Linked DNA regions of Homo sapiens: region 1 is linked to region 2. The links are contacts of gene promoters, found by promoter capture Hi-C in human tissues and cell types (Jung and others, 2019). All regions are on one chromosome and are shown on one strand. Each heading gives the region's core, a stretch centred on a gene start or on the middle of the fragment in contact. The rest is flanking DNA. Distances are from core to core; before and after follow the strand shown. Region 1 overlaps RAB6A (RAB6A, member RAS oncogene family). Region 2 holds the start of MRPL48 (mitochondrial ribosomal protein L48).

Region 1 (2,700 bases), core at 185-2,684, 77 kb before region 2:
GCTCATTCCTCCTGGTTTAAATCTTTTCAGTAGACAGAGCTAGAAAATATTAAAAATTTTCAAATGCTAAAAAATGTAATGAATTCATGCATATATATACATATATACACATATATATACATATATACATATATACACATATACATACATATATACATATATATACACACACATATATACATATATATACACATATATATACATACACACACACACACATATATATATATTTTTTTTTTTTTTTGAGACGGAGTCTTGCTCTGTCGCCCAGACTGGAGTGAAGTGGCACGATCTCGGCTCACTGCAAGCTCCACCTCCCAGGTTCACGCCATTCTCCCGCCTCAACCTCCGGAGTAGCTGGGATTACAGGCTCCCGCCACCACACCCGGCTAATTTTTTGTGTTTTTTTTTTTTTAGCAGAGACGGGGTTTCACCGTGTTAGCCAGGATGGTCTCGATCTCCGGACCTCGTGATCCACCCGCCTTGGCCTCCCAAAGTGCTGGGATTACAGGCGTGAGCCACCGCGCCCGGCCCCCATGCTTATATTTTTTATATTTAACTTTATTAATCTTATATCTGTATTTCCATCTCCCGTGTCCAAAATGCCAGTTCTCAATCATTAAGCAAAGTATTCATTTATTTTATGCAGAATACAGACAATCATTTTGAAATAACAATATCCAACATCATCACCAACATGTTTACTAAAAACAGTTAAGATCTAGCCGGGTGTGGTGGCTCACACCTGTAATCCCAGCACTTTGGGAGGCCAAGGCGGGTGGATCATTTGAGGTCAGAGTTCAAGACCAGCCTGGCCAACATGATAAAACCCCATCTCTACTAAAAATATGAAAATTAGCTGGGTGTGGCGGTGCATCCCTGTAGTCCCAGCTACTCAGGAGGCTGAAGCAGGAGAATCACTTAAACCCAGGAAGTGGGGGTTGCAGTGAGCCGAGGTTGTGCTATTGCACTCCAGCCTGGGCAACAGAGAGAGACTCAGTCTTGAAAAAAAAAAAGTTAATTTTTTTTTTTTTTTGAGACAAGGTCTTGCTCTGTTGCACATATAAGTGCGGTGGCAGGATTGTAGCTCACTGTAACCTCGAACTCCTGACCTCAAATGATCCTTCTGCCTCAGCTTCCTTTGGGAATAGAGGTGTAAGTCACCATGCCTAGCCCATTTTCTTTAAACTTATAATTTATCTTTCCTTTTTGGCCCTGATTTATAGTTTAACGGCTATACAGGTCCCAGTCCCTCATTTTGGCCACTCATGGGCCCACTAATTGGGACTCAAAGGCTTTCTGCTCAAAGGCATAGATGCAGAGGAGCACACTTCCACTAGGCATGCATTTACCACCTGGTATCTCTGAAGCAGTGGCTTCCCTTCAAACTCTGCGGGCACCACCAGGACTTGAAAGATGGACATACAGCACGGTGGTATGAGGGCTGTATCCTCTACCTCTACCATGCTCTGCCTCTAGGTCCTGCTGAAGCTTCTCCTGGAAGTACTTGATGCTGAGCTCCACAGCAGCAGTCCAGCTGGGATGGCAGCCCAGTAGGGTCCTCATTTTGCTTTAGGTAATGTGTATATACATCTGTATTTCTCTCTTAAGTAAACTGTACCATATGTTACATACTACTTCACCTTGCATTTTTTCACTTAGTCATATACCCTGAAGATTCACTCCATAGTAATATATACATTCTTCATTCCTTTTTGTACCTGTCTAGTACTCCTTTAAAAGGATGTTCGTAAGTTTGTCAAACCATTTTCCTTTTGTGGGCACCTGCGTTGTTTACAGTCTTTAGATATTACAAATAGTGCTAGGTATTACAAATAGTGCTATAGGAAATAGACTTGTACATATGTCTTTTTGTACTCTTACCAGTGTATCTTGAGGAGATTCCTAGAAGTGGGATTTCCAGGTCAAAGGCTAAATGTCGATATTAGATATTGCCAAAAATCAACTCTCTCTCCTCCATAGGAGTATTACCATTCTGCATTGCCTCAGTAATTTATGAGAGTAACTGTTTTCCTTATAGCCTTGCTATCAGAAGATTTCAACAAACTTGGAATTCTGGCAGTCTGAATCTGAGGCAAAAATATTTCTCAGTGCAGTTTCAATCAGTACTTCAGTAAGAGCAAGACAGAGCTTCTTTTCAGATAATTAAGAGCTATGTTACTTTCTCCATGAACCGTTCATATTTCTAGTCAATTTTTCTATAGTGATGTTTATCTTTTTTCTTCTCTATTTTTAGAGGCTTTTTTATTTGGGATATTAGCCATTTTTGATACGATTTACAAATACTTTTCCCTAGTTTGCCATTTGCTTTGTTTATAATGTTTTAAGTAATCAAACTTTACATTTTCCCTTATTTTGTGCCATAGCATTAGTATCATTAAGAACCAGAATTCAGTTAGTCCTTATTTTATTTTCACAATTAAATCTCTAATCCCTTTAGAATTTGTCCTAGTGTAATATGAGAACTTGATCCAATTTTATCTTTTCTATACACTTAACCAGTTACTCCAATCAATTTATTACATAGTTCATTTTCCCCAGTGATTTGAGGTACCACCTTCATACTTATTTTCCATATGAAACTGGGTCTGTTCCTAGCTTTTCCTTTTTTTTTTTTGAGACAGTCTCACTCTGTTAGCCAGGCTGGAGTGCAGTGGCACAATCACAGCTCACGGCAAC
Region 2 (2,700 bases), core at 173-2,672:
CAATTCTCCTGCCTCAGGCTCCTGAGTAGCTGGGATTACAGGCATGCACCACTACGCCCAGCTAATTTTTGTATTTTTAGTAGAGACGGAGTTTCACAGTTTTGGTCAGGCTGGTCTCAAACTCCCGACCTTGTGATCCGCCTGCCTTGGCCTCCCAAAGTGCTGGGATTACAGGCATGAGCCACCGCACCCGGCCATGTATCTTATTAGATTGTATTTACCTGGACTAGACAAGGAAAGAAACTCTCTGGCTGCCAACCTGCCCTTTTGCAAACCTATAGTCACAGTCCCATAAAATAGATGAAGCACAGGCACGGAAATGAAACAGCTCACCACTTATATAACATTATGTTAACTAGGTACCTTCTTCCTGTCTCTGTTCCTCATCTGTGAAATGGGTATAATGATCCTCAGCCTCATAGGGTTATTGGAAAGACTAAATGAACCCATACACCCATAAAGAACCGACCTGGCACATACTAGCATTTGATTGATTTTTTTTTTCTTATTTAAAATTTCACTTCTAAAACCCCAATAGCATTTATTAGGCAATAATCAATCACTGTACTGGAGGAGGTATGCCTGGTCCATTATATTTCCAAGCATAATTAATTGTCGTATCTGTGTTACCTCAGTACTTTGCACACAATTCTGGTATTTCACTTACCATACTAGATACTAATTATTTGTTACTAGATACTAATTATTTTTTGCTATTATTTTGATTGAGTTCCTCAAGGACTGAGATCCTGACTAATTTATTCCAGCATCTAGCACAGGACGTGGAAATCTGACTTCTAAACTCAATTTAAGAGATGATTGGCTGGGCCTGGTGGCTCACGCTTGTAATCCCAGCACTTTAGGAGGCCGAGGCGGGCGGATCACCTGAGGTCGGGAGTTCAAGACCAGCCTGACAAACATGGAGAAACCTCATCTCTAGTAAAAATATAAAAATTAGGCGGGCGTGGTGGCGGGCACCTGTAATCCCAGCTACTTGGAGACAGAATTGCTTGAACCCGAGAGGCGGAGGTGGCAGTGAGCTGAGATCGTGCCACTACACTCCAGCCTGCGCAACAGAGCGAGACTCCGTCTCAAACAAACAAAAAAGTCAGATCTGTGCTAGACGCTGAAAGGAATTAATCAGACAGGATCTCAGTCTTTTAAGAACTTTCAAATACAGAGAAGAGGTGGTAACAAATCATTAGTGTATAATATTGTAAGCGAAAAATTAGAATTGTGTGCTAAGTACTGGGGTAACACAGAGATGGTAATTAATTCTTTCTGGAGAAACAGCAGTGAATGTGACAACCTGAGTGAGGGTGGAAAGCAGGAGAATTTCTAGACTCTGAATTTCAGAAGCTTCCGGAACTAAAATGATGTGGAAGTTGAGTGAGTCTCGGTGGGATATTGCTGCTGCACCTGGTCAAGGCCGTTCCTTCAGTGTTTTCAGACGCCCTGGGAACGCGGCTGCAGGGTCCGGTCTTCGGTTTGCACAGCTAGAGGCCGCGCAGCAGCAAAGGATGAGCGGAACCTTGGAAAAGGTAACGTAGATTCCACGCACGCGGGGCGCGGGGAGATGGCGGACGGTGCAGAGAGGGGAGATGGCGGAGGGTGCAGAGCGGGGAGGTGGCGGCGCGCGGACATCCGGGGATGAGACACTGGGGCGCCCAAGGTCCTTCCCAGCAGCACATGCGGCTGCCTGGCGTTGAAGGGGCTGAGCAGATTCCTTTCCACCCGGGGCGAACTCTGCCGAGCCGACCCGTGCCACGCCCACACCACATGCCACTCTCTCCACCCAGTTTCTGGAAAAGGGAGAGCTCTGCGATGGGAATCACGACACCAGGATACGGTCCCGATTAACTGTGTGACCTTGGGCAGGTCATTTTATATTTGCATTCAGTTATCAACTTCCAGAATTTTTTCTAAGAATGCAGTTTTGACTTGCTGAACTGATGAGGATGTGAAGCTACCTGGTAATAAGGAAACAGCAGTAATAAACTAGGTTTTTGTTCTTTTCTTTCTTTTTTTTTTTTTTTTTTTTTTGACGGATTTCGCTCTGTTGCCCAGGCTGGAGTGCAGTGGTGCGATCCCGGCTCACCACAACCTTCGCCTTCCGGGTTCAAGCGATTCTCCTGCCTCAGCCTCCTCAGTAGCTGGGACTACAGGCGCGGGACACCATGCCGGGCTAATTTTTGTATTTTTAGTAGAGACGGGGTTTCACTGTGTTGGCCAGGCTGGTCTCGAATTCCTGACCACGTGATCTGCCCGCCTCGGCCTCCCAAAGTGCCGGGATTACAGGCATGAGCCACCGCGCCCTGCAATAATTAACAACATTTTCGTTTCCAAAACCTTATTTAAGTGACTGTCATAAAACCGTATGAACCACTATAAATGTGTTCCTGGGCTTTCTCCCGTTCCCTTAACAGATTTAACAGATTTCATTTGTGCTCTTTCAATTGTATCATGCTGCTTAGATTAATGACTCATTTTAGCAATTTATATTAAAATTTTGTTTTAGGCATTAATTGTGGCAACTATATTTCCATGATTCATAGGTCAGCATGGTCGTTGCAGCTCATGGGTCTACCTGTGGTTACCTTGGGGCTGCCCTTGAATGTGTGAGGGCCCACGCCTCACTTCATCCTTTATGAAACAATTCACTTGTTCACCTTAGCCAGTTTGTAAGAATTTGGCCAAATA

Evidence for each region. Contacts are between HindIII fragments. The study calls those that stand out against the background at their distance.
Region 1: a fragment that was not itself captured here is called in contact with the fragment with the promoter of MRPL48 in region 2 in 3 of the 25 tissues and cell types used here (IMR-90 fibroblasts, mesenchymal stem cells and spleen).

What each region holds. Positions count from the first base shown.
Region 1 is chr11:73,709,733-73,712,432 of GRCh38, forward strand. All of the region lies in intron 5 of RAB6A (RAB6A, member RAS oncogene family), which reads right to left. Among named protein-coding and RNA genes, the nearest start is that of RAB6A, 50 kb to the right of the region's middle. The HindIII fragment of the contact is 7,101 bases long and covers 1-2,700 here.
Region 2 is chr11:73,786,452-73,789,151 of GRCh38, forward strand. It overlaps MRPL48 (mitochondrial ribosomal protein L48), which reads left to right and starts at 1,423. Exons shown (of 8, transcript NM_016055.6): 1 at 1,423-1,541. The coding sequence starts at 1,521. RefSeq lists enhancers at 1,357-1,416, 1,557-1,636. The HindIII fragment of the contact is 15,089 bases long and covers 1-2,700 here.